Regions from separate parts of the Homo sapiens genome. Here region 1 is linked to region 2. The links are contacts of gene promoters, found by promoter capture Hi-C in human tissues and cell types (Jung and others, 2019). All regions are on one chromosome and are shown on one strand. The core of a region is centred on a gene start or on the middle of the fragment in contact, and the rest is flanking DNA. Distances in the headings are between cores, read along the strand shown.

The links. The method cuts DNA at HindIII sites, captures the fragments that hold promoters and counts their contacts. A contact is called where the count stands out against the background at its distance.
Region 1: a contact is called between a fragment that was not itself captured here and the fragment with the promoter of MUC4 in region 2, in 2 of the 25 tissues and cell types used here (adrenal gland and psoas muscle).

The regions. Positions count from the first base shown.
Region 1 is chr3:195,914,345-195,918,682 of GRCh38, forward strand. The region is part of intron 3 of LOC124906253 (keratinocyte proline-rich protein-like); the gene reads right to left. Among named protein-coding and RNA genes, the nearest start is that of TNK2, 8.0 kb to the left of the region's middle. RefSeq lists an enhancer at 450-1,062 and a silencer at 664-713. The HindIII fragment of the contact is 6,786 bases long and covers 1-4,338 here.
Region 2 is chr3:195,809,413-195,813,508 of GRCh38, forward strand. MUC4 (mucin 4, cell surface associated) reads right to left here and starts at 2,517. Exons shown (of 25, transcript NM_018406.7): 1 at 2,324-2,517. The coding sequence starts at 2,405. RefSeq lists enhancers at 1-213, 214-777. The HindIII fragment of the contact is 26,053 bases long and covers 1-4,096 here.

The sequences.
Region 1 (4,338 bases), core at 1,222-3,721, 100 kb after region 2:
GTTTGTCTCTGTCACCCAGGCTGGAGTACAGTGGTGCGATCTTGGCTCACTGCAACCTCTGTCTCCCGGGTTCAAGCAATTCTCCTGTCTCAGCCTACCGAGTAGCTGGGATTACAGGCACGCACCATCACATCACACCCGGCTAATTTTTATATTTTGAATAGAGACAGGGTTTCACCATGTTGGTCAGGCTGGTCTTGATCTCCTGACCTCAGGTGATCCACCCGCCCTGGCCTCCCAAAGTGCTGGGATTACAGGTGTGAGCCACTGCTCCCAGCCAGCATCTTAGTTTTTAAAAGCTCCTTAAGTGATTCCAACCAGCTACCAGACATGGGAGGTGCTTGGCTGAAGGCAAACTCTGGCGGGGAGGAGGAGCCAGTCTGTTCCCAAGCACACCCTCACTGCCTAGAAGGAGGCCTGGGCTAAGGCCCACGGAAGGGAGGGCTGGGATCAGGACGATCTGACTTGACAAAGGGCCACCATTTCTGAGTCAGGAGGGGATCACTTGCCTCCTGGCGGAGGTGAAGAGACGGATTTCTGAAGGAATTCTTAGGCATGGTGTGTATCTGCTAACCCCGGCCACATCCTCCCAGGACCGAGAACAGACTGTGCCTTCACCCTATTGCCCAAGTCAGAGGTCCCTGGAGCTGCCAAGGGGGCTGTGCTCACATGCCCCCGAGCAATTCAGTTTTCAAAACCTTACTAGGCCGTTGGGAGGAGGCACTGCCAGCTGCTCCCACACACCTGCCCCCTCTGCCCAATCACAGCAAGAGCCAAATGAGCCGAGAGATGACAAACCCTGAGGTCATCATGGGCTCTTCTGAAACAGAGCCTCATGGAGCCCTGCGCTCTGGTGCCCCCTGGTGGACACCTAGAGTTGTGGTTGGTAACCAACAAATGGACCAGTGAGTTCAGTTACTCCTGATTGGTTGGTGTTCGGGCACAGTCATGCCAGATGTGGCCCCATACACAGAATCAAGGAATTTCTAGTGCGGCGCAGTGGCTCACAGTTGGAATCCCAGCACTTGGGAGGCAGAAGCAGCAGGATCAGTTGAGTGTAGGAGTTCAAGGCTGCAATGAGCTATGATCTGCACTCCAGCCTGGGTGACAGAGGGACACCCTGTCTCTAAAAAAATTAATTTTTTTGAGACAGTGTCTCGTTCTGTCACCCACGCTGGAGTGCAGTGGCATGATCTCGGCTCACTGCAACCTCTGACTCTTGGGTTCAAGCGATTCTCCTGCCTCAGCCTCCCCAGTAGCTGGGATTACAGGCATGCGCCACCACGCCCGGCTAATTTTTGTATTTTAGTAGAGACGGGGTTCCACCATGTTGGCCAGGCTGGTCTTGAATTCCTAAGCTCAAGTGATCCTCCCGCCTCGGCCTCCCAAAGTGCTGGGATTACAGGCGTGAGCCACTGCGCCGGGCCAAAAAGAAATTAATTTTTAAAAAAGAGGCTAGGCATGGTGGTTTACACCTATAATCCCAGTATTTTGGGAGGCCCAGGTGGGAGGCTGCTTGAGGCCAGGAGCTAGAGACCAGCTTGGGCAACATGGCAAGACTCCCTACCTACAAAAAATTTAAAAATTAGTCAGTCGTGGTGGTGTGCACCTGTCATCTCAGCTACTCAGGAGGCTGAGGTGGGAGGATTGTTTGAGGCCAGCAGTTCGAGGCTGCAGTGGGGGGTACCATCACACCACTGCACTCCAGCCCTGGGCAACAGAGAGAGGCGTTGTCTCAGAAATAAATAAATTAAATAAACAAACTTCCAGTGGAGGAGTCAAGACCAATCATATGAAGGACGGGCTCCTTTGATTCTTCACCTACTCCTTTAACTCCCTGAAATCTGGCCTCCCCTGGAGCCCACCATACTAAGTGTGGGAAATGTTGCAGTCAAGGCTTGTCTTTAAATGGTGAGGTACTGTGTCACTCTTGCACCTTTCTTCTGCTCTCTCCTTTGCTCAAATCCAATTTGCAGTGCAGACACTGCACAGTCTTTAGCTAACTGTTCTTCCTCCTTCTGCTAAAATAGTGAGCCTCCCAGGCAAGCCCATACCTGCTCCGTTCTTGGCTACCCTCTCCAGCTTGGTAAGATCGTTTCCACCCACTGCCACTCCCCGACTCCCCTCCCACAGCTGAGCCAGCGAGGCCCCCAGGTACCAAGCTCCCTGCATCTGCGGCTGCCTGCCTGCGCACTGATGTTGAGTGGACACCCAGACTTGCTCCATCTTAGGAGGTAGCAACAGAACCCAAACTCTCAGTTCCAGCTCTCCTTCCCTTCTCCCCTGGCTCTCTCATTTGTCCAGAAAGCAGATTCAGGTTCTTGGCAGCCCCCTTTACCCATCTCCTCCTTCAGCACCTAATACACCTACTTCAGCCCCAGATACCTCAGGGCTCCACCCTTCTGCCTCCTCTCTCGACTCACTTCCTCTCAGCTACCACTTTATTCCACATAGAAAGAACCTGTGTCCAAGTCCTAGCTTCCCCACGTTCATTTTTCAAACAGTGATCAAGTACCTTTGGGATGCCAGACCCCTAACCATGAGGTGACTTCCATGTGAGTGGGATCAGATCCTTCCATTAGCCTCTGCACGTAAGACATGAACCCTCACCGGGAGACTGTAAGAATTACACAAGATAATGCGATGCTATTCACACCCTTGAATGGCATGATTACAGCAAACATTGTGTAGATGACCTTGCCGACTTCAGTCCCTGTACCTCCTGGTTAATTCCCTGTTAATCTTCCTAAAACATCGATTTCATCATGTCTCTCCCTTACTCAAGAACTCCACATTGCTCCCCAGTTCCACGCAGCATCGCTCCCCGGTTCCACTCAGCATTCCTCCCCGGTTCCACGCAGCATCGCTCAGTGCCCCACAGGTGTGAGTGTTCTACAAATCACAGCAGCCCTTAGGGGATGATTCACCACAGTAGCAGAGTTGGAAGTTGGGTCTAGAAGGGCCAAAAAGCCAAAACACACAAAAAGCCACAGCGAAGATAGGTCTGTGGGTTAAAACTCAAGGAAATTCCATGCCTAGAAGACAAGGCAGTCAGTATGTCAGAAATCAGGGAAGCAGGTGAAGACACAGATACAAGTCACCCTCAGCAAGGATGCCAATCTGTAACTTCTGCAGAGACGGGCTTGTCCATAGAAAAAAGGGACGTTCCTGGAACATTTGCTGTAGTTATCCAAGACACCTCACTATCAGCAGACCCAAAGAAGGTGACCGGGTGGTTAGGCCCAGAGGAACACTCGCAGGGGAACGCAGGGCACCTACGAGGTGAGTACAGCTTCTACGGTCTCACCAACAGCACTTCTTTGTTACTGGGATGCAGAGGAAACGATTATAAAAGAATAAATTTAGACCGGGTGTAGTAGCTCACGCCTGTAATCCCAGCACTTTGGGAGGCTGAGATGGGCAGATCACCTGAGGTCAGGAGTTTGAGACCCACCTGGCCAACATGGTGAAACCTCATCTCTACTAAAAATACAAAAATCAGCTGGATGTGGTGGCGGGCGCCTGTAGTCCCAGCTACTCAGGAGGCTGAGGCTTGAGAATCACTTGAACCCTGGAGGCAGAGGTTGCAGTGAGCCGAGTTTGCGCCATTGCACTCCAGCCTGGGCAACAGAGCGAGACTCCATCTCAAAAATAAATAATTAAATAAATAAATAAATAAAAATTTGAAGGGTAGAATTGAATCTGGGTGTGAAGTTTGAAGGAGGGAATGTACATTCTCAATGGGAGAGGGATTTTATGTTACAGCTGAAAAGGCCTTAGAGAACATCAAGTCTAACACTCACTTAGCAGTGAGGACACAGGCTCTGAGAGGTAGAGTGAGTGACCCACAAACAGCAATTGAAGGATAGAGCAGGTGACCCATGGACTTACAGCAATTGAAGGGTAGAGCGGGTGACCCACGGACTCACAGCAATTAAAGGACAGAGCAGGTGACCCACGGACTCACAGCAATTAAAGGATAGAGCAGGTGACCCACAGACACACAGCAACTGAAGAGTAGAGCGGGTGACCCACGAACACACAGCAACTGAAGAGTAGAGCGGGTGACCCACGGACACACAGCAACTGAAGGGTAGAGCGGGTGACCCACGGACACGCAGAAATTGAAGGGTAGAGCGGGTGACCCACGGACACGCAGCAATTGAAGGGTAGTGACTGCAATTGGATTAGAATCTCCATGACCAAGATAGAAATCCAGGGCGCCTACTCTACTCTACTCTCTCTCTCACCCGACTCCTGAACCCTCTAATACACACATAAATACCATGCTGAAGCTGCGCTGCAACAAACCCAGACGCGAGAAAAGTATGTTAGTGA
Region 2 (4,096 bases), core at 1,267-3,766:
CCTGTGGGGGTGGGGGCTGCCCACCCGCCCTTGGTGACTGCTTTTCCTGCCAAGGCCCTGGTCATGCCCGGTCAGATGTGTGGGTGCCATCTCCCAGCCACGACCATCTCCTCTCCTGGCCCAGCTCCACTTGGTCCCCTTAGCGACGCAAAGGACTCAGCGCTCCACGACATGCCTAGCTTCTTCGGGTCGTCATGGAGACGCCCTTGCACACCAACAGTCCTTCACTCCTTCTCCGGGTCACGCCCCCGTGCTTTTCCACGCCCACCCCAGGTCTTGCCCCTCTGCGCTCCTCTCCACAGACCCCACTTCCTGGCTCCACATGGAGCTGAGTGTCCAGCTGGTACCCAGCACATTTGGGCTCAGCTTTAAATCACAGATTTGGAAACTCAAGAACTTGGGCGTCAGGAGGTCCAACCGTTCACCACTGCTTTTTACACAGGGGACCGGGGCCCTGGGGAGACACGGGGCAGGGCCTGGTCACAGGGGCCAGAACAGTTCACGGCAAAGACTTGGCCCTGGGGCTCCTAAATCCAAGCTGCCTCCCCGGCGCCCCAAGCCCCAGCCTCGCTCTGGGAGTCATGATTCCCGTGGAGACTCCTTCAACCACATCTGCAGGGCAGGGCCGTGTGGCGGCTCCTTCCGGCCTCCACGTCCTCACGGTGGGATGAGCACTGGAGCGGGGTTGTGTGGCCAGGGTGGGGTGGGGGTGCTGGAGGGTGGGGAGGTGTAGGGAGGTGGTGGCAGTTTCCTTTGCCCTCAGCCTAGTCCTGAAACATCCCGAGGTGGAAGGGTCCGCTTCACCAGCATGGCTTCTCTTGCAGCCTTTAAACGGCACTCGCCTTCTGACTCACTCCCAGGAAGCTCCTCAAATATGCGCCCAAGAAATATTTTCCCTCGGCGACTGTTCTTAGCCTGCTGAGAGGCAGGGCAGGAGCTGAGACTCTAACCCCAGCTTGAACTCTGGACCCCAGACTCTCCCCCAAAGACTCAGACACCCAGAAACACAGAATAAAACTTGGTCCTGAAGCCAGAGGGACAGCCTGGAAAGTGTGGGGAAGAGGACGGGGGCCCCCGAGGGAACATCTCCCACAGGCCTGGCATCCCTCCCCTCCCAGCTCTGTACACGGAGGAGCCCAAGGCCAATGCCGGGGCTACGAGCCCCAGGCAAGGCCGTGACCCAAATGGAGGCTTTTAAACCCGAGCTCAGAGGTAAGAAGCCCACGGCCAGCACCTCCCGGCCCTCTGCGCCCTGGCCGCCTCCTCCGCACCACCCTCCCGGCCGGCCTGCCCCTCTCCTCCTTGTCGCTTCCCTTGCTTGCTGCTGTCTCCCGATCTTCTCCTCTCTCCATTCCCAGGGTCCTCAGTTTGTCTGCGTCTCACCTGTCTCGTCCTCTCACCCTGCAGCTTTACATGAGTTTTCTTCCGTCTCCATCACCCAGCTTTCCTGGCATCCCCTCTACCCCCAGCTCTGTACACAAGGGTGTACATCTTTCTCCTTGACTCTGTTCCTCTTGCTCTGGCTCTGCCTGTCTTTCTCTCTGCGAGTAAGCCTGGGCTCTCACCATGGATCCTTCCAGACATCGCCGGGCTGCTCTCTGGCCCTCTGTTCTCTTTTCTCTCTCTTTCGAGCATTCTCCCTCTGTCTTTCCCCTCAGATCTTGTCCCGTATCTGCCAGTTCATGCCTCCTCTTCCCCACTTTTCTCCTCTTCTTATTTTTTATTTTATTTTATATTTATTTATTTATTTATTTATTTATTTATTTATTTATTTATTTTGAGACAGAGTCTCGCTCTCTCTCCCAGGCTGGAGTGCAGTGGCGCGATCTTGGCTCACTGCAACCTCCACCTCCCAGGTTCAAGTGATTCTCCTGCCTCAGACTCCTGAGTAGCTGGAATTACAGGTGGGGCCCACCACGACCGGCTAATTTTTGTATATTTAGTAGAGACGGGGTTTCACCATGTCGGCCAGGCTGGTCTCGAACTCCTGACCTCAGGTGATCTCCTGCCTTGGCCTCCGAAAGTGCTGGGATTACAGGCATGAGCCACCGCGCACGGCCTCCACTCTTCTTTCTCTCTCCCTCTTCTCTTCCTCTTCTTTCCCTCTCTGGGTCTCTCTCCACCTTCCCCCCATGTTGTCCCATTCATCTCTTTCTCCTTTCCCTCTCCCTCTTTTTCTCTCCCTTCTCTTCCTCTTCGCTGTCTCCCTTTCCCCTATTCTCTCTCTCTCTCTCTCTGTCTCCCCGGACCTCTTTCTCTGACAGCTCCCACCTCCCCCAAGTGCTCCCCGCAGCCAGCCTCATCTGCTGTCTCCATCACTTACCTGGGACCACATGCGGAAGGAGGCAGAGACACAGGCAGCTCAGGGACACCCAGGGGACCCTCCTCCAGCGTGCCCCCTTCATGGCTGCGGCAAAAGTCCCCCTGGCTCCCTGGGGAAGCTCCACGGCCCAGCAGCTGCAGTGTGAGGAGCAGACGTGAGCCCGTCCCCTCAGGCGGCTGGCCCGAACCAAGTGCGTTTCTCCGAAGGGGCCAGGGAACCTGGGAAGAGGACAAAAGAGGGCGGGGCCCCACGCTAATCACCCTTTTCTCTCCTCAGCCCCACCCCACTACCCCACCAGGAAAGAAAACACCGATACACCCGTTGCTCTGCTTCTCATCAGCCTGAGCTGAGTGGCGGGAGGGATGGGAGGAGACATGGGGGAATGGGAACAGGTCACACTGGAAATGGGTGGGCCACCCTCCTAGCCGGGTTCCTGGGTCCTCTCCTCCCTCCCCAGGGGCTGCCCCTGTCCCACCAGAGCTTTGGGCTGCTGGGAAGAATGGGGAAGAAAGGGCCCCAGAGGGAGCGACCTTGGGGCTGTATGAATGGGGGAAAGAGAGTGAGACTTAAGCAGACCCCAAGGAATTGGGAAGCGGGGAACCATGTGGGTGAGGGGCAGGAACAGAAATGCACTGTATGCCGTCTTTTGGAAAGGGGTGGTGTGCTTGGAATATCTGCTCAGTGCAGGCGCGTGGCAGACCCCAGACGCGTGGCAGACCCCAGACGCGTGGCAGACCCCAGACGCGTGGCAGAACCTCAGTGCAGATGCGTGGCAGACCCCAGACGCACGGCAGATCCCAGACACATGGCAGACCCCAGACCCATGGCAGACTCCAGACGCGTGGCAGACCCCAGACGCGTGGCAGACTCCAGACGCATGGCAGAACCTCAGTGCAGACTCGTGGCAGAACCTCAGTGCAGACGCATGGCAGACCCCAGATGCGTGGCAGACCCTCACCAGATGGTGGACTTCTTCTTTCCAGGGCAGGGAGCTGGAGCCAGGGTGCAGGGAGCCAGGGACAGTCTGGGAGACTGGCCTGAGGGAGCTGGCATGGGCAGTGGGTTGAAGGCAGAACCTCGGTAGGAGGAAGCGACTGTAACCTGTGAGGAGGTGGAGCTGCTCCTGGAGACCTGGGGGCTCTGCTCACCCCAGTTCCACCTCTTGGAACTCACAGGCACAAGCGAGGAGGGAAAGGGACCCCAAGTAGGGTTGTAAAGACGAAGAGGGCAGTTGGTGTAGCTCTCTGCAAAGGAAAACGGGGATACCTCCGCTCCCCTCTTTGCCACAGTGTGAATCTCTGCTTCTGATTCCTCAAGACTTGATTCCCGAATGTGGGGTGTCTGTGGGGTGACTCGTCCCAGAGCAGGGACCTTCGATGCTCAGACACTGTGGGGCCCAGGACAAGGACTCAGGGTTTCTGCATTCCCAAGCAGAGCCAGCCTTGTCCAGCAAGGAGTAGGCAACCGACGCTGTGGCGCTGTCTCCGAGGGTCACGGAGGCCCTGTGACCACTTGCTTCTAGAAGCTGAAAGTCTGTTCATGGCCCCAGGCCAAAGCCTGGGCCACGCCATAATAATGCGGATACCGTGGGGAAGTGGCGTGGTCCCCCAACAGTCCCTCCAGCTCTGGGTGGACGAGCTGACCCTGTTCTTTCCTGGAGGTAAGAAAATCATAAAGGTAAAGAGTCATGTGGAGCATCCTGTGGGCGCCTGGACGGGGCAGCAGGAGGGACCTACTGCAGGGAATTCGCAGACACCAAGGCCCAGCTTGGCC